Regions from separate parts of the Homo sapiens genome. Here regions 2, 3 and 4 are each linked to region 1. The links are contacts of gene promoters, found by promoter capture Hi-C in human tissues and cell types (Jung and others, 2019). All regions are on one chromosome and are shown on one strand. Each heading gives the region's core, a stretch centred on a gene start or on the middle of the fragment in contact. The rest is flanking DNA. Distances are from core to core; before and after follow the strand shown. Region 1 holds the start of ACVR2A (activin A receptor type 2A). Region 2 has its middle 290 kb from the start of LINC01911. Region 3 has its middle 350 kb from the start of LINC01911. Region 4 has its middle 430 kb from the start of LINC01911.

Region 1 (3,337 bases), core at 246-2,745:
ATTAAGGGGTAAAAACAGGCCCTTAAATAGCTAAAATTTTGACAAGTAATCACTTGTCTGATCATCAAATATGTCGTTCGAAATCCTCATTTTTTTCTTCAAAGCGCAGTAAACAAGTATTTGCGCACCTATTACGTGCAAAACAGTTTTCAACACAATGCTTTGTGTGTAAAAGGAACGGCGGGAATGGATTCAAGTTGCGCATCGTGATAAATGGCGTGAATATCCTGAGCGGGTGGACAGCCCTTCCTCCGTGAGTTTTTTCTTTTTCTTTTCTAGTCACCAAGACAGCACGCGTGTGCAGAAGCTGCAGCGGTGGGACGCAGTGCTAAGTCTGGGGGCGCACACACCAGCTCGCGCGTCGCGAGCTCGCCTGGGCAGCTCGGCGGGCGCGGCGAAACAGCTCCCACGTCCGCCTTCCACCGACTCCTCGGTATCAGAGCGGACGAGGCGTCCCCCCAGAGGAAAGACTGGGCGCCGCAGACGCCCCTTGGAGAAGTCCCTGGCCACTCGCCCCACCTCGGGGTCCTCTTCCTCTTGGGCTTCTCCTGACCCTTTGGGTGGGCGCTCCAGACAGGCCCGTCGGACGCGATTTGGAAACGGGTCGTGCCCGGCCTAGCCCGCATCTACTCGCCCGGCCACAGCCCAGCCACAGCTTAGGGACTTTGAGGCGCCCGCGCCCCTTTGTCGCGGTATCTCTAGCCCAAGCAGGCCGGACGCCGAGGCCTCGCGGTATCGAGCCTCCGTCCGCCCCGCCTCCTCGCCCTCCACTCCGCCCCGCCCTCGCTCTCTCACCCCTCCCCCGCTCCCGCCTCGCTTCCCCGACAATCTCCTCGCGCTCCCGGCCCGGCACGCGCGCTGCGCCCGGCCGCCGCTGCCGCCGCCGCCGCCGCCGCCGCTGCCGCCGAGCGTTCCTCCGCTGCGCCTGGCTTCCAGCTTCGGGCCGGAACCGGAAGTTTGGGGGGCGGAGCCCGGCGGAGGCCAGGAGACCGAAAACGCGGCCGAGCCCGGAGCCCGGAGCTGGAGCCAGAGCCTGGACCAGAACTTGGCCGCCGCCTGCACCGCCGCCGCCGCTGCCGCCCGCCGCCCCTTCCCCGCGCCGCAGCCGCCTCGCCGCCACCGCCGCGAGCTCGGCCGCCAGTGGTCCTCGGACTTTAGGTGTCTGGGTTGAAGGTCGGTCCGGACATCGGACCCAGTCAGTTCCCAGACTGTCCGGGCGGCAGCGGACGCCGCTGCCGCCGCCGCCTCTTCGTCGCCTCAGCCTGGCGTTTTGTTCCGAGAGACGGGAGAGGCGAGCGGAGCTGACAGTGATTTTGACAGTGATTTAAACCCGCTTTTGTTGTTGTTGGCTTTTCGTTGTTTGGTTTTGTGTGTTGTGCGTGTGTGTGGCGGTTTTTCCCCCGTGGTGCATTTTATTTTTTATCGTTGTGCTCTTTTTTTTCTTTTTTTTTTTTAACCCAGTGAGCGTTTTTTTTTTTTTTTTTTTTTTTTTTTGGTCTGGGCTTCCGAATATGTTTTATGACGGTTGATTTTACACCAGGAGGTTTGTCTCCGAGGAAGACCCAGGGAACTGGATATCTAGCGAGAACTTCCTCCGGATTCCCCGGCGCCTCGGGAAAATGGGAGCTGCTGCAAAGTTGGCGTTTGCCGTCTTTCTTATCTCCTGTTCTTCAGGTAGGTGCAGGGAGCGCGGCGCGGTGGGGCTGCTCCTGCGGCCGCGGCGGCCGCTGCTGGGGGCCGCGGCTGGTGTTGAGTCGGAGAGTCCAGTGGAGCCTGGGGAGGTTGCCCACTCCCTGCGCCCCTCGGCTGCCACCGCCCCCCCCCCCCGCCCCCAGGTCTGATTGTGATCTGGAAACCTCCATGCATTTTTCTCTTTTTGAGTTGGGTCGGCGAGCTGATAAGAGTGAGTGCTGTGTTGTTGTGGAAGTGAGAAAGTCATGTTTTGTGGCCATAACACTGGATGACAGCGCTGGTTGGGTTGCAATTAAGCCGCAAATACCACAAGTGACAATTTATGCAAAGGTTGAGATCTGAAAGGAGTATTTAGTGTGGGCTCCTCCAAAACAAGGGTTGCTTTTTGTCATCGTTTAATTAGTGCTTCACCGGTGAATATCACGACATAGATCAAGCCAGTTGCTGCTTAATTTTGGCTGTGGGAAACAATACATCCTATCAGCAATTTAATCTGGGTCTCCCCTCACGTTTTCTTCAACTTCAGCGTCCAGCAGTGTTAAAAATAGTTGTAGTTGTTGTTGGAGTATTAACTATAACCCAGTGCAGAAGAGGTATGCCGCTTGGTATTGGTAATGTGCTGGCGTTCAACCACCATTTGTGTGCTCTTTTGGGGCATAGATTTTGCTTACCTACGGAATACTTATTTTAAACGCTTTGTATTGAAGCATTGTTTTCGGTTTAGAACAACCCATGTGAAATTGTTTTTGTTAAATATAGTACACTCATAAAATAGGTTTTAGCTCAAGGTTGGGGGAATAAACGGGCCATTTTATATTGGAAATTTTGATTTTGTGAGGACGTTCTATGGTTGCAACCAGTGGTTGGAAAAACTATCTAGTCTTTTGTATTTGAAATTCTATAAATAAATACAGCATCTAGCTGAAAGGTGTGCAGATGTACATAACAGGAGAGTTAGTTCAATAGATGAAACATTTTAAATAAGTCTCATTGGATCTATTTATTGTAAAATTTAATATTCAGTTACAAGCTTGTGGCATAGAATTACGGGGGACTCTTGGAAACGGGGGCGAATTGACAGGTTTCATGGCCATGTCTTTATCTCGTTTGCCACAGGAAAATTAAAGGGTGGTAGTCTTCTTTGTGTACCTCTGTGGGGTGTGTGTGTGTGTGTTTGTGTGTTTGTGTCCGTCTTCCCCACCCCCCTTTAAATATAATCTTTTGTAATGTATAGAATTTTGCTGAATGGTACATTTCCTTGTGGTTAATAAATGGATAAAGTCTAGTCTTATGTCTGTAGTGGTATTGATCAGTTCCGGGTGGGCTGAATGTGTTGTGAAATGGCGATCATTGCCAGAGATTAACCAAAAGAATCATGTCTGTTTAAATGGAAGAAGGAACATGCTTAAGGCAGGCTGACAGTTCTTTTTGTGCACGGTTTGGGAAGGAAGCTAAACAATGGTGTGTCTGAAATGAATGAAGGCCTTGATAACATTAAACCTCTTGCTTTTGTGACATGACTTAACCATGTAGTTTTTATCTTTCCAGTAGTACTCTTTTTTCCTCTGCTTCTATATGTTGTGGCTGGTGAACTCCTCTTGTTCAAATCCCTTGTTCTGATCTCTTGCCCTTGAGGAGGAGGGGC
Region 2 (3,337 bases), core at 551-3,050, 710 kb before region 1:
TATAAGAATTAAGTTAAATAATGTATGTCCAATACCTAGCAGATTGCAAATAGCCACTAATTGTATCATCATTATTAATTCTTCTTTATGGAGAGGGCCATAAAGGATCCATAAGGCAAGGTGCTTTATTTTTTAATACCCTAAATTCTTATTTCAGCCGTAGAATTACTTAATCCCTTCTAAAAGTAAATTTCCCCAAGAAACTTCAGAAGAAAACTTTTTCAACTACAACCAAATTAAAAGCATTCAATATCTTAGTCTTCACTAAGACTAATGCAACCTTCACTTCAGTTTTTTTTTGCCCATTTTCTCTTATTATTTCTTCAGGAAAAATGAAAAGCAATTATATTTATGAAAATCTTACAGGTCCTCTTCGAAATGGTTAAGTCATGGGAGGATTCCGTTAAGGGGTGGAAAAAAAAAAACAGCCTTCCCTAGTTCAATACAAGAAGAGGAGCTTTCCCAGGATTTCTGCCTCTTCTGGAGTTTAAGGCCCCTGTCTTGCCATTCTCTCAGTAGCAAGCTTCTCTATGGGGTATTTTAAATGTAAGAAGCAGAAGGGCTATTATACCAACCGCTGTCATACAAATAAAACTTCAGCCATCCATATCACTGACACCAGCTGTTTCTGTTAAGAGAAAAAGTGTAATCATTTTTCTTGTAAGGATTCTTGCATGAATTCATGAATCTGATGTTGATTTTGTCTCTGCTCAATCTAGTTGACCAGAGTCATGACTACCAGAATTTTTAAAAAATATGTAGAGTCAGTTCTCCCTCTTGTATAACTTGACCATCCTCCACAATTGCTCACAGCCTGAGGCAGCCTGAAGATGTTTTACAAAAAGTCTGTGAGCCAAAAAGTAATCAATCAAAACATATTTAAGAAGCATTATAATCGACCTCGAAGGGAAAAGTAAAGGATGTACAGGCAGACTCCATCTGTGACTAGGTTATCAATAATAGTTGTTTGACCTTTTGTGAGTTAGCAAGCATATATACAATGTTATTGTGGCAAACAATCAGCCAACTCTAGAAAGTCATTTTATCCAATTACATATCTGAAAAGAAAATTGATAATCTAAAAGAAACTGATCATGACATAGAAAAGTGTTTCCACATTAAAACTGGTTTCCAGTTCCAAGTCGGTATGCCTGAGCCAGTGTCTTCCTTATGTCTCCTTCTTCCTTCACCTTCCAACAGGAGCTGAACAGCCCTGCCTCAACACAGCAAAGGCTGAGATTTCAGAGACTTGAGGGCTATTGGGAGCTCAGAACATGGCATCAAGTCCCAAGGAGGAAAAACTATGGATCCTGGAACCTTGCTGTTGTCATACTTGGGGGCCTGTCTTAAAAGTCTCACTTGGTGATATGGGCTGAGTCATGTCCCTCCCCAAAATTCTTATGTTGAAGTCCTAATCCCTAGTACCTCAGAATGTGATTAGATTTGGAGATAGGGTCTTTAGTGAGATAATTAAGGCAAAAGGAGGTCATATGGGTGGGGCCTCCTTACAGAGGAGACTGGTATCTCTGTAAGAAGAGGAATGAGGACAGAGACACGTACAGACCAAGGGACCATCATATGAGGACACAGAAAGAAGGGATCCATCTTCAAGTGAAGAAAAGAGGCTTCAGGAGAAACCAAACCTGCCAACGTCTTGATCTGGAACTTCTAGCTTCCAGAATTTAAAGAAAATAAATTTATGTTGTTTAAGCCTCCCAATCTGTGGTGTTTTTGCTATGGCAGTCCTAGCAAACTAATACATCTGGCTACCTGTCACCTCTTGCTTTTCTTCTAAGGGCTCTAAAGACTAACAAGTTCCCACTGGTTGTTTCAAATAGAATTTCTCCCTTCCCCCAGAAGCAAAATGCAGCCCAGATCTTTCCTTAAGGATGCCCCTGGATCAGGTACAGCCTTTTAAAAATGTGTTTATTAAGAGTTTTGAGCAGTAGAAACAATATGGAAAACTCATATGAAGTTTAAGGTTGTTTGCTTGCTACTCCTCTTAATTCAGTAATTCCTTCTGATAATGGGAATCCCTTATTTATACTGATAAACTTTCAAATTCCCATAGGGTATCTGCTGATTAATAAAATACAAAATTCCAAAAGACTATTATGTATTCAATAGTGTGCTTAAATAATGTTGAATATTTCAAATCATGGTAGTATGCATATTCAAGTAGTGTTACCCACTTTATAAGCTTGGGATACAAATATAGTAATAACTCTTTTTCAATTTATCATCAAATTTCCATAGGCTTCTATTAGCAAAATTTCCATGAATCCTATTAGATAATATTTGGGCTTACTTGGAAAAAATATACCATGTCCTTCTAAACACCAAGTGGAGAAAGAACTGTAAAATCCCACCGGTTCATGACCACTGCCATATTGGCGTTGAATGATTGCTACTGAACAATAATACCCTGTGGCACAAGGAACATGAATGTAGTGTGCAGTGACGCCTTTGTCATTCTGTTTCCTGTCAGCACCTCCATAGTTCCTCAAACAAGACTCCTAGTACCTTCAGTCATTCTTCTCCAAAGGGTGGCAGGACCTGCAGGTACATCTTGGCTCAGACACATGCCACACTAGCTCTAATCTCCTATAAAAGCACCAGAATCTATACTGAGATGAGGTTGCCAGCCATTTAACTTATAGTCAGAGCCTCTCTAGGACTTCTGGCATCCTTTAGCACCAACTAGCTTTGTCCACCCAGGTAGGTTTCCCTTACTCCTAATCTCAGAGATAAGAGGTTAGAATCTTAACCCCATCCTTCATAAACAATTTCGTGGCTTTTCTTCATCCTTCTCCCCAAACACTAACTCTGAAAACCAAGAGGCCAGGGACCAAAATTGTTTCTATTATAAGATTCCCCTAAATGACGAGTTAATGGGTGCAGCACACCAACATGGCACATGTATACATATGTAACAAACCTGCACATTGTGCACATGTACCCTAAACCTTAAAGTATAATAATAAAATTAAAAAAAAAGATTCCCCCAGCACAATGGCACTTTCTTGCCCAGCAACTGCTTAACTAAGAAGAATTACTCAAGTAAATCTTCCTATAATGAGAGAACTCTGCTGCAAGATGATTTGCAATTTCCATTTCTGTGTATAGAAGTGATTAACTGGTAATATATTGTTTCACCTACTGCAAACATACATTTGAAAAGGATATATGCAGAAATAATTTTATATCATATTATGTGTAAACAAACATAATGCACTGTGTATTGACAGATGTATTACTCAGGTTTCACTTGCCACTTTGTGCACTTGTGCTATTCCCTGGTTGAGAACCACTAGCTTAGATCCTGTAAGTTAAAATG
Region 3 (3,337 bases), core at 292-2,791, 660 kb before region 1:
AAAACCCCATCCGAAGGTCACCAATAGCAAAGACCAAAGGTAGAGAAATCCATGAAGATGAGGAAAAAACAGAGCAAAAAGGCTGAAAATTCCCAAAACCAGAATGCCTCTTCTCCTCCAAAGGATCACAACTCCTTGCCAGCAAGGGAACAAAACTGGAAGGAGAATGAGTTTGATGAATTGACAGAAGTAGCTTCAGAAGGTGCGTAATAACAAACTCCTCCAAGCTAAAGGACCACGTTCTAACCCAAGGCAAGGAAGCTAAGAACCTTGATAAAAGGTTACAGGAACTAACTAGAATAACCAGCTCAGAGAAGAACATAAATGACCTGATGGAACTGAAAAACACAGCAAGAGAACCTCGTGAAGCATACACAAGTATCAATAGCCGGAATCAGTCAAGCGGAAGAAAGGCTATCAGAGATTGAAGATCAACTTAAGGAAATAAAGGGTGAAGACAACATTAGAGAAAATAGAATGAAAAGGAATGAACAAAGCTATCAAGAAATTTGGAACTATGTGAAAAGACCAAACTTATGTTTGATTGGTATACCTGAAAGTGATGGGGAGAATGGAACCAAGGTGGAAAATACGCTTCAGGATATTATCCAGGAGAACTTCCCCAGCCCAGCAAGACAGGCCAACATTCAAATTCAAGAAATACAGAGAACACCACAAAGCTGCTCCTCAAGAGGAGCAATACCAAGCACATAACCATCAGATTCACCAAGGTTCAAATGAAGGAAAAAATGTTAAGGGCAGCCAGAGAGAAAGCCCAGGTTATCCACAAAGGAAAGCCCATCAGACTAACAGAGGATCTCTCTGCAGAAACCCTACAAGCCAGAAGACAGTAGGGGCCAATATTCAATGTTGTTAAAGAAAAGAATTTTCAACCCAGAATTTCATATCCAGCCAAACTAAGCAAAGGAGAAATAAAATCCCTTACAGACAAGCAAATGCTAAGAGATTTGGTCACCACCAGGCCTGCCTTACAAGAACTCCTGAAGAAAGTACTAAATATGGAAAGGAAAAACTGGTATTAGCCACTGCAAAAACATACCAAAATGTAAAGACCAACGACACTATGAAGAAACTGCATCAACTAATGGGCAAAATAACCAGATAGCATCATAATGACAGGATCAAACTCACACATGACAATATTAACCTTAAATGTAAATGGGCTAAATGCCCCAATTAAAAGACACAGATTGGCAAATTGGATAGAGTCAAGACCCATCAGTGTGCTGTATTCAGGAGACCCATCTTACATGCAAAGACATACATAGGCTCAAAATAAAGGGATGGAGGAAAATTTAACAAGCAAATGGAAAGCAAAAAAAGCAGGGGTTGCAATCCTAGTCTCTGATAAAACAGACTTTAAACCAACAAACATCAAAAAAGATAAAGAAGGGCATTACATAGTGGTAAAGGGATCAAGAAGAAGAGCTAACTATCCTAAATATATATACACCCAATACAGGAGCACCCAGATTCATAAAGCAAGTTCTTAGAAACGCACAAAGAGACTTAGACTCCCACACAATAATAGTGAGGGACTTTAACATCCCACTGTCAATATTAGACAGATCAACGAAACAGAAATTTAACAATGATATTCAGGACTTGAACTCAATTCTGGACCAAGTGGACCTAATAGACATTTTCAGAACTCTGCACCCCAAATCAAGAGAATATATGTTCTTCTCAGCACCACATAGCACTTATCCTAAAATTGACCATATAATTGGAAGTAAAACACTACTCAGCAAATGGAAAAGAATGGAAATTATAACAAACAGTCTCACAGACCACAGTGCAATCAAATTAGAACTCAGGATTAAGAAACTCACTCAAAACCGCACAACCACTTGGAAACTGAACAACCTAGGTAACAGAGGATCTCTCTGATTACTAGGTATATAACGAAATGAAGGCAGAAATAAAGCTCTTTGAAACCAATGAGAACAAAGACACAATGTACCAGAATCTCTGTGACACAGCTAAAGCAGTGTTCAGAGGAAAATTTATAGCAGTAAATGCCCACAGGAGAAAGTGGGAAAGATCTAAAATTGACACCCTAAAAACACAATTAAAAGAACTAGAGAAGCAAAAGCAAACAAATTCAAAAGCTAGCAGAAGAATAAATAAGATCAGAGCAAAACTGTAGGAGATAGAGACACAAAAAACCCTTAAAAAAAATCAATGAATCCAGCAGTTGGTTTTTGAAAAGATTAACAAAATAGATAGACCACTAGCCAGATTAATAAAGAATAAAAGAGAGAAGAATCAAATAGACATAATAAAAAATGATAAAGGGGATATCACCGCTGATCCCACAGAAATACGAACTACCATCAGAGAATACTACAAACACCTCTAAGCAAATAAACCAGAAAATTTAGAAGAAACAGATAAATCCCTGGACACATACACCCTCCCAAGACTAAACCAGGAAGAAGTCAAATCCCTGAATAGACCAATAACAAGTTCTGAAATTGAGGCATTAATTAATAGCCTACCAACCAAAAAAAAGCCCAGGACCAGATGGATTTATAGCTGAATTCTACCAGAGGTACAAAGAGGAGATGGTACCATTCCTTCTAAAACTATTCCAAACAATAGAAAATGAAGGACTCCTCCCTAACTCACTTTATAAGGCCAGTATCATCCTGATACCACAACCTACAGAGACACAACAAAGAAAGAAAATTTCAGGTCAATATCCCTGATGAACATCGATGCAAAAATCCTCAATAAAATACTGGCAAACCGAATCCAGTAGCACATTAAAAAGCTTATCGACCACGATCAAGTCAGCTTCACCCCTGGGATGCAAGGCTGGTTCAGCATATGCAAATCAACAAACGTAATCTATCACACAAACAGAACCAATGACAAAAACCACCTGATTATCTCAATAGATGCAGAAAAGGCCTTCGATAAAATTCAACACCCCTTCATACTAAAAACACTCAATAAACTATGTATTGATGGAATGTATCTCGAAAAATAAAAACTATTTACGACAAACCCACAGCCAATATCACACTGAATGGGCAAAAGCTGGAAGCATTCCCTTTGAAAACTGGCACAAGAAAAGGATGCCCTCTCTCACCACTCCTATTCAACATAGTATTGGAAGTTCAGGCCAGGGCAATCAGGCAAGAGAAAGAAACAAAAGGCATTCACATAGAAAGAGAGGAAGTCAAATTGTCTCTGTTTGCACATGATACGATTGTATATTTAGAAACCCCCATCATCTCAGCCCCAAAACTCCTTAAGCTGATAAGCAACTTCAGCAAAGTCTCAGGATACAAAATCAATGTGCAAAAGT
Region 4 (3,337 bases), core at 567-3,066, 580 kb before region 1:
TTGCTAATATTGTGTTGAGGATTTTTGCATCTATGCTCATCAGAGATATTGGCTTGTAGTTTTCTTTTTTTATTGTTGTTGTGTTTTTGTCTGGTTTTGATATCAGAATAATGCTGGCCTCAGAGAATAAGTTTGCAAGTATTTCCTCCTCTTAAAATATTTTGAAGTGTTTGAGTAGGATTGATATTAATTCTTTAAAAGTTTGGCAGAATTCTACAGTGAAGCAATCAGGTCCTGGGCTTTTTTTGATGGGAGATTTTTTATTAAGCCTTTGATCTTGGTTGATTTTTTTGTTTTGTTGAGGATTTTTTTTCTTTTTTTCTTTTTTTTAATTTCGGCATGATTTAATCTTCGTGGGTTTTAGGTATTCCAGAATTTATCCATTTCCTCTATGTTTTCCAATTTATTGATGTACAGTTTTTGTAATTGTCTCTAATGATCCTTTGTATCTCTGAGGTCTCAGCTGTTATGCCTCCTTTGTCATATACGATTTTGTTTATTTGGGTCTTCTCTCTTTACTCTCAGTTAATCTAGCTAAAGCTTTATTTATTTTGTTTATCTTTTTAATAGAGTAACTTTCTGTTTCATTGATCCTCTGTATTTTTTTACTCTCAATTCTATTTATTTCTACTGTGATCTTTATTATTTCTTTCTTTCCACAAATTCTGAGTTTGTCTTGTTCTTAATCTTCTAGTTCCTTAAGGTAAATTGTTAGGTTGTTTACTTGAAGTCTTTCTACTTTTTTGATATAGACATTTATTGTTGTAAACTTCCCTCTTAGTACTGCTTTTGCCATATCCGATTGATTTTGATATGTTGTATTTTCATTTTCATTTGTTTCAAGAAATGTATTAATTTTCTTTTTGATTTGTACATTAACCTGTTGGGCATTCAAGGGCATGTGGTTTAATTTCCATATGTTTATGTATTTTTTTCAAGGTTACTATTGTTATTGATTTCTAGTTTTATTTTATTGTGGTTAGAAAAGATACTTGATATGATTTTTTAAAATTTTATTCAGACTTATTTTGTAGCCTAAGATATAGAACATTCTTCAGAATGTTTCATGTGCTGATGAAAAAAATGTGTATAAGACCAAATAGACCCACAGGCTCTAAACTACCAGACCTGCATTAAAAATTTCGGTTGGGGCGACCTCGGAGTATAACCCAACCTCTGAGCAACATATGTTGACTGTAGCAGTTGGTTGAAATATTCTGTAAATGTCACTTAGGACTATTTAATCTCGTGTGTAGTTTAACTCCACTGTTCCTTTGTTGATTTTCTGTCCAGGTTATCTGTCTATTACTAACAGTGGGGTGTTAAAGTCCCCAACTATTATTGTACTCCAGTCTATCCTCCCTTTAGATCTATTTATGTTTGCCTTATATACTTGGGAGCTCCAGTGTTGGGTGCATAGCTATTTATAATTGTTATATTCTCTTGCTGAATTGACTCTTCTATCATTATATACTGACCTTCTTTATCTCTTTTTACAATCTTAGATTTGTAATCTGTTTTGCCTGATATAAGTATAGCTACTCCTTTGGCTTCCAGTTGTATGCAATATCATTTTCAAAACCCCTTCACTTTTAGTTTATGTGTGTTTTTATAGGTGAAGTGGGTTTCTTGAAGTTTCTGTTTCTTTATTCATTTGGCCATTCTGTGATCTTTAATTAGCAAATTGAGACCATTTACATTCAGTGTTGTTTTTGATAGGTAAGGACACACTACAGCCATTTTGTTGCCTGTTTTCTGGTTGCTCTGAGACTCCTCTCTTCCTTTCTTACTGTATTCCTTTGTGGTTAAGTGATTTTCTCTCGTAGTATGTTTTAATTTGTTGCTTTTTATTTTTAGTGAATCTATTATAGGTTTTTGTGCTGTGGTTACCACGAAGCTTACAAAAAACATCTTATAGATATAACAAGTTATTCTAAAGAGATGACAACTTGGATCACAAAGAAAAGAATAGAAACAAAAGCAACAACAACAAAAAATGCACAGTTTAACTCCATCTCCCCCCACATTTCGATGTTGAGTTGTCTCAATATACATATTTTTATATTACCTATCTCTTAGTTGTTGTAGCTATTATTGTTTCTGATAGATTTGTCTTTTGGGCTTCATACCAGAGTTATAAGCAGATTGCAAACCACAGTTACAGTAATAGAGTATTCTGGCTTTATTCATATACTTAAGTTTACCATTGGGTTTCATACCTTGAAAAGTTTTCTTTTTGCATGTTAGTGGTTTCTTTTCTTTCAGATTGAAGAACTCTTTTTAGCATTTCTTGTAAGATGGGTCTAGTGGTGGTAAATTCTCTCAATTTTGTTTTTCTGGGAAAGACTTCATTTCTCCTTCATTTTTGAAGGATAATTTTGCTGGTTACAGTATTCTCAAATGGCAGTTTTTTTCCTTGAGTACTTTGAAAATGTCATTCCACTCCTTCCTGGACTGTACAGTTTCTGTTGAGAACTTTGTTGCCAGACAAATTGGAGATCCTCTACATGTGATTTGCTTATTTTCCCTTGCTGCTTTTAGTATCCTCTCTTTGTCCTTGACTTTTGAGAGTTTTATTATTATATGTGTTGGATAGAATTTGGGTTGGATCTGTTTGGTGTTCTCAGATGTTTCTGTACCTGAATATTTACATCTTTCTCAAGTTTTGGAAAGTTTTCTGCTATTACTTCTTTGAGTAAGGTTTCTAACCCTTGCTGTCACCAAGCTCCCTCTTGAAAAACAATAATTCTTAGATTTTGTCTTTCGGGGTAATTTCTATATCTCATAGGTGGTCTTCATTTATTTTCATCCTTTTTTTTGCCACTGAATGTGTGTTTATAAATATATGGTCTTCAAGCTCACTAATTTTTTTCTTCTGCTTGGTCCATTCTGCTGGTGAAAGCCTCTAATAGGTTCTTGATGTCAGCAAATGTATTTCTCAGTTATAAAATTTTTGTTTGATTTTTAAATTATTTCAATCTCTTAATTTTCTCTAATAAATTTCTGAATTGCTTTCTGTATTATCTTGGATATCACTGAGTTTCCTTAAAACTGCTATTTTGGATTCTTGGTCAGAGAGTTCATAAATTGTTGTCTCACTAAGGTCAGTCGTTGGAAACTTGCTTTTTCCTTTTGGGGAAATCGTAGTTCCCTGTTTGCTATTGTTGCTTGTGTGTATTTGTACTGAAGGGTTATTTATTTATTTCCATTTTATTTCCCTGGCTTATTTTGTTTTTTATTGGCTATGTTTGCCTAGCAAATCTTTACTGTTAGGTAGCTGCCTCATTTTTGGCTATATGTGGTACCTTAAGCCCAGTTTCACCTTGACTTCAGTAAA

The links. Contacts are between HindIII fragments. The study calls those that stand out against the background at their distance.
Region 2: a fragment that was not itself captured here is called in contact with the fragment with the promoter of ACVR2A in region 1 in 1 of the 25 tissues and cell types used here (dorsolateral prefrontal cortex).
Region 3: a contact is called between a fragment that was not itself captured here and the fragment with the promoter of ACVR2A in region 1, in 1 of the 25 tissues and cell types used here (lymphoblastoid cells).
Region 4: a contact is called between a fragment that was not itself captured here and the fragment with the promoter of ACVR2A in region 1, in 1 of the 25 tissues and cell types used here (mesenchymal stem cells).

The regions. Positions count from the first base shown.
Region 1 is chr2:147,843,534-147,846,870 of GRCh38, forward strand. ACVR2A (activin A receptor type 2A) reads left to right here and starts at 1,496. Exons shown (of 11, transcript NM_001616.5): 1 at 1,496-1,674. The coding sequence starts at 1,620. RefSeq lists an enhancer at 1-596 and silencers at 723-912, 993-1,102, 1,858-1,937. The HindIII fragment of the contact is 7,112 bases long and covers 1-3,337 here.
Region 2 is chr2:147,129,419-147,132,755 of GRCh38, forward strand. No RefSeq gene overlaps it. Among named protein-coding and RNA genes, the nearest start is that of LINC01911, 290 kb to the left of the region's middle. The HindIII fragment of the contact is 4,380 bases long and covers 1-3,337 here.
Region 3 is chr2:147,183,377-147,186,713 of GRCh38, forward strand. No RefSeq gene overlaps it. Among named protein-coding and RNA genes, the nearest start is that of LINC01911, 350 kb to the left of the region's middle. The HindIII fragment of the contact is 5,957 bases long and covers 1-3,337 here.
Region 4 is chr2:147,264,090-147,267,426 of GRCh38, forward strand. No RefSeq gene overlaps it. Among named protein-coding and RNA genes, the nearest start is that of LINC01911, 430 kb to the left of the region's middle. The HindIII fragment of the contact is 5,441 bases long and covers 1-3,337 here.